Linked DNA regions of Homo sapiens: regions 1 and 3 are each linked to region 2. The links are contacts of gene promoters, found by promoter capture Hi-C in blood cells and fetal thymus (Javierre and others, 2016). All regions are on one chromosome and are shown on one strand. The core of a region is centred on a gene start or on the middle of the fragment in contact, and the rest is flanking DNA. Distances in the headings are between cores, read along the strand shown. Region 1 has its middle 35 kb from the start of RTP4. Region 2 holds the start of RTP2 (receptor transporter protein 2). Region 3 overlaps MASP1 (MBL associated serine protease 1).

What was found. Contacts are between HindIII fragments. The CHiCAGO score rates a contact against its expected background, and 5 or more counts as called.
Region 1: a fragment that was not itself captured here is called in contact with the fragment with the promoter of RTP2 in region 2 in 7 of 17 cell types (naive B cells, activated CD4 T cells, total B cells and 4 more); the score reaches 7.5 in naive B cells.
Region 3: a contact is called between a fragment that was not itself captured here and the fragment with the promoter of RTP2 in region 2, in 1 of 17 cell types (endothelial precursors). The highest score is 5.2, in endothelial precursors.

Annotation. Positions count from the first base shown.
Region 1 is chr3:187,331,432-187,334,549 of GRCh38, reverse strand. No RefSeq gene overlaps it. Among named protein-coding and RNA genes, the nearest start is that of RTP4, 35 kb to the left of the region's middle. The HindIII fragment of the contact is 4,956 bases long and covers 1-3,118 here.
Region 2 is chr3:187,701,172-187,704,253 of GRCh38, reverse strand. RTP2 (receptor transporter protein 2) reads left to right here and starts at 1,697. Exons shown (of 2, transcript NM_001004312.2): 1 at 1,697-2,289. The coding sequence starts at 2,126. LOC100131635 (hCG1645011-like) reads right to left here and starts at 1,888. Exons shown (of 3, transcript NR_034062.1): 1 at 1,715-1,888. The HindIII fragment of the contact is 5,389 bases long and covers 1-3,082 here.
Region 3 is chr3:187,262,489-187,265,402 of GRCh38, reverse strand. MASP1 (MBL associated serine protease 1) reads left to right here. Exons shown (of 11, transcript NM_139125.4): 3 at 2,683-2,860. Among named protein-coding and RNA genes, the nearest start is that of MASP1, 28 kb to the left of the region's middle. The HindIII fragment of the contact is 586 bases long and covers 975-1,560 here.

The sequences.
Region 1 (3,118 bases), core at 551-3,050, 370 kb after region 2:
TCCCATCTCCAAAAAATAAAATAAAATAAAAAATAAAGTCTTTCTCCCTTACTATTTCATAAGTGCCATGAGGACAAAAACTGCCTAACTCATCACTGTTAAATCCCCCATACCTGGAACATAGCGGACATGAAATACACATATCTGATGACAGACAGATGAAATGTTGAATGTGTCTGACACATAGCTGGTGCTCACGAATATTATTCTCTCCTCTCCTCTCCTCTTTGAGAGTAGACCACTAAGCCCTCCACAGGCAGTGATCCCTCAGCACAGAGCAACACAGAGCAGAGCTGAGCTGCTGCATGAGGCCGAGCCCAGCCTCTCTCCTGGGTCCTGTGTGATCCGAAACCCAAGCAGCAGCCCCAAGTCACTCGAAGTCTGGTGAGAGTGATGCCCATATCAGCAGTTATCAATCCTGAAGTATTCAGTATTTAAGAATTTTCATCTGGAAATCTTTTTTAAAATAGTGGTGCCTTGGTCCTACTCATAGTGATTTTCATGTAGTTGGTCTGGAATGTGGCCTGGTCTTTGGTATTTTTAAATAATTTCCCTAGGTGATCCCAATATACAGTAATGGATGAGAACCACTGATCTGGTTCAATCACCATTTTTCAGATACAAAGGCTGAGGCGCGAGGGGGAACGGAGTTAGCCCAAGAACCTCCAATACCTTTTGCAGAGCTGGAGCTAGAAGTAGAAGAGCTAACTTTCCACCCACAGCTCCTTCCACTGCACCAAGTAACAAATTGAAATCCCCTTTATCAATAACAGAGGCTGCTTTCCTGGCATCAGACAAAGCTGGGAGCAGAGAGCTTGTTTTTTCACCCTAAAAGATCTGTTATTAAAAGCCTGTTTATGCAAGAAGGGTATAATTAAAAGTGAATGAGTGCCATTTTTTATCGCAATGAATATTAATTAAAGGAAAACACTGAGTCAATACTCATTAGAAAAAGACGGAGGCTGAAAGGCAGACTGCTCATACCAGGGTTGTCAATCACATCAAGCAGTAATGAGATGACAGGACCCTAATAGCAAAATGTTGCTCTATTTTCCTCAAATCCTCTTGGATTTAGAAGTTAGCCAAAATGCAAATCTCAGGCTAGGCTCCGTGGCTCTGCATTCTGCTTGGGCACAGGACTGTCTTGCCTAGGACACAGCCCTCCGTGGGAGTCAGGCTGTAAATGGTTTTACTTATGCAGGGTTAGAATGCTAGAGAAGTAAGTGGCCTCTTCAGCCTCCCTAGAGAGTGAGGGGCCAAACAGATCCAGTGATTCTTGCCACATTGTTCCTGTCCCTGAGCCCTGGGAGAAAGGCAAAAGCACAGACTTTCCCAAAGAAGAATCCTCAAGTCATCAGCAGGTCGCCAGAGCTGATAAATTAGGCTCAACTGGGAGGCTTTTAAAAATGTGTTTGCCAGGCCTTGCCTTGGTCCTACTGAATCTGAATCTTTTGGGCTGAAGAGACGTAAATGGGAGTAAGCATTTAACAGATTCTCATGTTAAACTCTGGTTTTTAGCCCAGCTCAAGATCTTTGCTTTCCTTTGTCAATTGGGGTCTTAGATGATTTTAGTCATCTAAGAATCAATCAATCATTGATTCATTCATTCAGCTGATAAATATTTATCTTCATTAGGCACTGTGCTAGTCACACGTGAAGACAGAGACTTGACCTCTGTTTTCTAGTTTCCTGTGGTTTAACAACAGAAATTACCATCGTGATGACTGCGCCATGAAGGAGGAACACAATGGTGAGGGAACACAGAGATAGGAGAGCTCAGCTCTGAATGGGGAGTCCATGAAGGCTTCTAGAGATGATGAATGGAGAACTAGGTTGAGTGGCATGTTCTCCCAGCAAATGTGCAGAGCCTTAGAGAGGTGGCTGGAGAATCCATTTTAACTGGAAGGCAGAGGGTGTGGTGTTTCATGAGGCTGATGAGTGCTGGATGGGGAAGAGCTCATGCCATGTAAAGGCATGTGCATTTCATCATGTCAAACACAAATTGTACCTAAATTGTCTGACGGAATACAAATATCAGCAAAGAGGAAAAGAAGCGAATGGTTCAGGAGACTGACACACACACTGGTGGGTTCTAGTGGGAGCACATGCAGAGACGGCAGGTTTAAATGCTTCTTCATTACACTGGACATTGGAACCAAACAAGTGTTTGGGGGAGTGATATGGTTTGGCTTGTGCCCCATCCAAATCTCATTTCGAATTGTAATCCCTGCATGTCAAGGGAGGGAGGTGACTGGATCATGGGGGCAGTTTCCCCCATGCTGCTATCATCATAGCTAGTGAGTTCTCATGAGATCTGATGGCTTCTTAAGTGTTTGGAAGTTTCTCCTTTGCTCTTCTCTCTCCTGCTGCCTTATGAAGAAGATGCTTGCTTCCCCTTCGTCTTCCACTGTGATTGTAAGTATCCTGAGGCCTCCCTGGCCATGTGGAACTGTGAGTCAAGTAAATCTCTTTCCTTTATAAATTACCCAGTCTGGGGTATTTCTTCATAGCAGTGTGAAAATGGACTAATACCGGGAATTTCAAAAGAAATGCCAGATAGGAAGGGCACATCCACTTAGGAGCCAAGATAGCAAATATTTAAGTAATAATGGAAGACAATTAAAAAAAGAGACCAGAAGTTCAGAGAAAGGAGTGATATCTTCCCAGAGAAGCTGAGTAGATCCTGAGCAGGCAGGGAGGAGAGGAAAAGGAATTTTAAGCTGGGCAAGTCTTGGCCCTGGGACCAGCAGCTGTGAGCAAGGGCCCTGACCACTATTGTAAACCGAGAACATCTTCCTGGGCTTTTTGACCCATGGCTGTGGACAAATGCCTAACAAATTCCTAAAGAGAAGGGCCCCATGTCTGGTTGCACCTGCACAAACAGAGCAGCAGGATGGGTACCAGTTCTGACCACCAGGAACAGGTGAGCTCCGCACTCATGTGGGTCCATGTGGAACATTTTAGAAGAGAGTAAGTGGATTCTATTTTTTCTGAGACTGGTCTTACAGAATTGGGGTTCCTCAGCTCTGGCAGGGCCTGCGGAGCTCCTCCATACCAGCTCTCACAACTCAGAGAGACGCGAGATTTCAAAATGAATGTCTGAGGGTACAGGGACCCT
Region 2 (3,082 bases), core at 448-2,947:
CCAAATTGAAGGGGAAAAGTGATTCTTTTATCCATCCCCTCCCCCTTGCTGATTTGTTTGCAGAATACAGGTGCTCAGTATTTTATTTTATAAAGAAATAACAATTTCTTTATTTGAAAAAGTATTGCCTAGACAAAATATGTATAATGAAGCTGCCAGAGTGTGATGTGGCCACAGCTGTACACAATATACATTTGTGAGCTCTTAAATCGTGGGTTCTGGAATAAGATAGTGTCATTCGCGGAAAATTGAAGTAGTAATTGTGCTCACTGATTGTATGAAAAGTGAAAACAGTGCTGTTACACAGAAAGATGAATTCTATTGGTCTCTGCTTAGAAGCTGCTATGCTAAATTAAACCTGATACTAGGCCTAAGGGGATTGCATTATTTGAGGAAAAAAGAAAATACAGGTAAACCCTGACAATTCTCATCCTCTTTCTGTTTTTCCTTTATTGCCATTTGTTCTGGGAACAAGGGTATACTATTTCTCAGAGGTTCTTTCCTGGCACGAGGGTCTAGGCCAGGCCATAAGCTCATCTCAGCTTCGTTCAGTTCCTGGCCATTCATGGATCCCTCTGTCTCACCTGGTCTGGTAACTGGCTTCTAAGGGAATCCCCAGTGAGGTTTGAGCTACCCAGTCCTGAGAGCCTGGGCCAGTAATTTTCCATTTCCAGGCCTCAGTTGTTTTAATTCAATGTCAATAAATTTTGGTTAAGAAATGAAGAGTTCAAGAAATAAACCAGATTTTTAAAAATAAAAGAGCTCTTCTAGAGCTGTCAGTCAATGGTTCAAAGACAATTGTGTCCTTTCTGAGGTCTTTAGCACAAAGCCGCTAGAGTAACACTTTTCATTTCAAGAGAGAATCCAGTGACATTGTCCCTGACTTCACACTTCCTGAAAACCACTTGGCAACTCAACACCAAGAGCTTCCGGTTCTTAGCAACCTGTTTCACTTCTTGAAGCTCTTTACTGTTGGAACTCTGCGTGTCTAGGGATCCAGACTTCCGGGTTAAAGAATCGTAAGATGATTACAGTTGGAAGTTGGACCAAAGCTAGGGTAAGCAGCCATATGCCTGGTCTTTTCCATGCTCAAGGCAGCCTCCCTTCAGGTAACCGTGTCTTCACTTGGATTACCAAATTTGAAGTCAGATTCCCCTCTGGTTTCTAAAGAATTTGAATTGGGCATCACAGAGCTACGGATGCTCTCTTGCTCCAGCTCAGCAGTAATGGAGGCAGCAGGAGCCTGCAGCACAGAACAAACTCATTACCCCAGCAGCCACCTTAGCCTGGCTTGGGACCAGGAACTGAATATGGGCTCTAACAGTTCTATGACGCTATGAATCTGAAATGTTATTACTGTGCTTTGCATGGCATATGAAATTACATTCTAGCTCACCAACTGGTCTAAGATTGCCCTGGGCAAAGAGATGTTACTTCTCACTCAATTCCCTGTTAGGAGCACAATAGTACTAAAATAAATAAACAAATGAGCTCGGTTTCAGAAGGCCTAGATCTGAATCTTGGATGAGCCACTTAGGGGTTGCATAAACTTCAGTTTCCTGATCTGATCTGCTTTGGCCAGCACACAGGTCAAGCGGTTTGTGCTAGGCACATGGTAAGTGATGGTCACAGCATATCAGGGGGTGTGGAAGCAGCAGGCTCTGCCTTTCCCTGTCCCTCATTTCTCCTTGACTTCCTAGGGTGTCGTACTTACCATAGCACATGATGTGGAGAATGCTAGAAGAGCAGTTGGGTGAAGCAGGGCCACCAAATAGTCCTTGCCTCCTGGAGACCTCTGGAAATCCAGATGAGTGTGGTCTGAGGTTGGGCCTCCCACTGTGCTTGCTCCTCTCAGGCCTACCCAGCGCTGCCTCTGAAGCCTAACTCAGGGCCCTGAAACTCCCCCTTGGGGCTTCCCTTCTCCCCAGCCCTCACTCTTGGTGCCCTGCCTGGCTACCATGGTAACAGGTTCCAGGGTAACAGAGGAGGGAGCTGGGTCCTGTTTACTCCCAGTCCTGCCGATGAGGATTCTGACCGTAGACACTGAATTGTCCCGTACCTATCCGTGCTCTTTCTGTGTTCTCACCAGGGCTGAGCTCGAACTGCCACCTCTGCCAGCAGGACCATGTGTACCAGCTTGACCACTTGTGAGTGGAAGAAAGTCTTCTATGAGAAGATGGAGGTGGCAAAGCCAGCGGACAGCTGGGAGCTCATCATAGACCCCAACCTCAAGCCCAGTGAGCTGGCCCCTGGCTGGAAGCAGTACCTGGAGCAGCACGCCTCAGGCAGGTGAGAGGTTCAGTGGGGAGGGACCTTGCAGACAGCCCCTGGGTCACAGCTGTGGGGTACTTTCCAAGGAGAGACAGAGCCCAGTCGCGGGCTTATTCTGGTGTCAGCTCAGATGGGGAAAAAGACAAAGACAGCCGGCTGGGTCAGAGAGTTCTTGCTTTTAATCCTAGCAATACCACTAACTCCCTGGGTGACCCTGAGAAAGTTATGTTCCATCTTTGGGTCTTAGTTGTCCACATTAAATGAAGAGCTGTAATATCATCTATGTCCCTGCAATCTCTGACATTTAGAGTGAGTTGGAACTGAAGGAAGGAGGCCATGAGGTCCATTGGGGAAAGTTTTAATCTAGGAGTTGGGGGAATGCAGGGGGTACAGCTATGCTCTGTTCCTAGATATGTTTAGTGAATTAATCCAATTTGATCTGAATACATAAACATTTATTGACCACCTGCTGTGTGCTACGAACTGGCTCTATATAGCTAAGTAGCCTTGTAAACTTGGCAAGTCTGTTTCCCTTTCTGGCTCTCAGTTTTTATATTTACAAAATGAGGGGGTTGGTCTTAGATAATAGATCCAATCCACTCTAGCTCTATTATCTATGCACCTGTGATAAAAAGATTTAGCTTTGAGCAAAACTTTCTTTAGGAACTTAGAGCCCAGGGTCCCACTCTTTATAGGAGCTGCACATCTACCACAGGGCAAAGAGTCCTTGAGGCCAAGGGGACGAGGCCGTCTAAAGTCCACATGCCTTTCCTCCTTTTAGATCATGATTGGGGACTGGGACTACAGAAAT
Region 3 (2,914 bases), core at 18-2,517, 440 kb after region 2:
TCAGCCCAGACGTTACAAGGAGGGAGGTCATTTATCACAGACCCTCAGTAGTATCTCCCTAATCCAAATGACCAGTGTGTTCACTTGAAAATGTTCATGTCCCAGTCACTGCAGAACCCAAGAGGCACTGGGGATACCAAGTTCCAGAAAGAAGCCTGTGTAGCTGGAACTATTAATGCCCAAGGCATGACTATTCATTATTAACAAATTCAAGTTCATCCGCAAGCAGTAATCCTGCATATGTTAAAACTCCTGCTTACCATCTTCTGGTTGGTTTATATAATATATGACTATGATGATTTGTTAGAACTGTGTTAGACTATGATGACTGCTATGTCTGGAATTGGAAAGGAATCTAGAGCTCAGCTAGTCCAAACCCCTGTTTTTACAAGTGGATAACTGAGAGCTAGAAAGGAGATGGCCCAAAATGCAGAATACGGCAGTGTCAGGAACAGGACCCAGGACCTCCAACTGCCAGGTTCCTGTATATCGTATTACTCCAAAGCAGAGGTCACCAAGATGGTGTACTCTAGTTCATGCAGTTACTCACAGAAGAATCCCTTTCCCAGGCCCTCATTCTAAATCTATTTAGCTTTTTTTTATTAAGTTCTAGCAAAAGCAGTTAACTGGTTTCTAATTCACAACATATTAAAAATAAGCAGACAGAAAAGTACAGTGAATAGGCTGATAAAAAGACAGGAAATAAAACATGACATAAAGAAGACTTCAGAAGTTCAAGGCTTTATAGTCCGGCAATGTTTAACGCCAGGTCAAGCGACATTACACAACTCAATATCCCCAAGATTATCACTTTAATATAGTATCACAATGGTTGACATTCATAACAATGTCCCTGGATCACCAAGAAAGGGTTAGCATGTTTCACTTGAGAAAGTGGGTACTTCTTTAAAGTACTTTTTTTTTTTTAAGTGTTACACCAAAAAGAAAATTTTTAGTTATAGTTAGGTAAAGCTTTGGCTATCTGGAAAACTGAGTCAGATAAAATAACACAGCAGCTGGGAGGTTCAAGGAAGTGACATTTCAGCTGTGTGCAGATAGGCACATTCTATAGTAACAAGACTGGTGTGAGTTCGGCTGGTATCTGCAGAGAAGAGGAATAAATAGCAAAGCCATGATCTCATCTTCTGTTTACACTTCAATTCCCAAAGTTAGTGATTAATTGTACTTGCGTTTTGTTGCCAGGGCAAATTGTTTTTCTTTGAAACTCCCACTTATTTTAAATAAATAAACCATTAGTTTCAAAACAGGAGTGTCAAATGTCAAGATATTTCTGACATGCTAAGCTAACGAACAAAACAATGAATTCATTAGAAGCTACTAGAGATAGCCGCCTTTGAGAACTTTTCTCTAATGACTTTGAAAGGCAGCAGGAATCATTCTTGGTAAGAGATTTTTTTCATGCATCTTGGCTAAAATTTGGTCCAGAGGTTGCAAACACAAATACAACTTAAAAGAATTGGATTAGGTATAAGATAATCGAATAGATACGTCAAGAATTTATACTCAAATAAATATACCAACTAGCTATCATACGAAGCTTCCCAAACTCCTGTCTCACATAAAATCAGCTTTAAGCCACCAGTTTAGGATCTCTGCTTGGATCTCTGAATTCGCACAGGGCCTCTGGCTCTTCCAAAGAAGGGAATTCTTTTAGCAAACAGGCATGTTTTTTGCATCTAAGTCTTAACACAAACATGTACACACAGAGATACACACTCAAACTATTTTTGGGTGATTCCAATAAATAGTTTCTGTATTAAGACTGCCTATTAAACATTAGTTTTCATTACATGACTTTCCTGCTTAAAAGTTTTCAGTGTCTTCCACTTACTCACAGAATTAATGGCATTCAAGGTCAACCATAATTTTCTTTCCATGTATCCTTCCAAGTACATCTCCTCCTACAATCCCCACAGACTCCCTGGCTACTCACTGTTCACAGAATGGGGCTTGTACTTTCAGTTCTTGTAAACAAATGTTTATTGGATAACTATTATGTGCCAGGTCCTGTTCCATGCACTGAAGACACATCTATAAAGAAAATAAAGTCCTTCTCTCCTGTAGCTTATATTCTAATGTGGATTGTTTGCCTGCTTTGAGTGCATATGCAGTGCTTCTGCTTGTGTGAAAGCATTTGTCACACTGTGTAATACCTGCCTGTGTCTGTGTTCCTCAATCTCAACACTGCTATTGTGTGCACAGCACTGTGTCTATCTCTCATCACCTCCATCTCATGCTTTGCTCGGCAGTAGGCACACACTGGATACTCAATGAATGACTTATATTGTGTATACAGTTTCCATTCTTTGGAAATGTGGTAAGTTCCTGTTGTGCAGAGAATCTGTCTGCGAGGTTATCTAACTTTTTAAAACTTTCATATTGAGTTATTTTTAATAAATAAGCTGCTTGGTTATTGACAGCAACAACAAATATCAAGCTACTTCTAATGGAACTAAATAAGACGAATGAAACTGATCAGATGTCCACATTGAATTAACTTGTAATGCGTCTTTTCTCAAGAATCCTTAACCTCCTTTCTTTGGGTTTCTCAGGCTGACTAGCCTACTCTTGGGTGGCCCCTTCCTTTTTCTTTCTAAAGATAAGGAAAGAAGCCTAGCTGGGAAACTGCTCATCTTGTTCCCTTTCTCTTTGACCTCAAAGGTAGAAACTGAGGACCAGGTGCTGGCAACCTTCTGTGGCAGGGAGACCACAGACACAGAGCAGACTCCCGGCCAGGAGGTGGTCCTCTCCCCTGGCTCCTTCATGTCCATCACTTTCCGGTCAGATTTCTCCAATGAGGAGCGTTTCACAGGCTTTGATGCCCACTACATGGCTGTGGGTAAGTTGGAGAAGTGACTCATCCTCAGGTCTCTCTCTCTCTCTCCGAAGATGA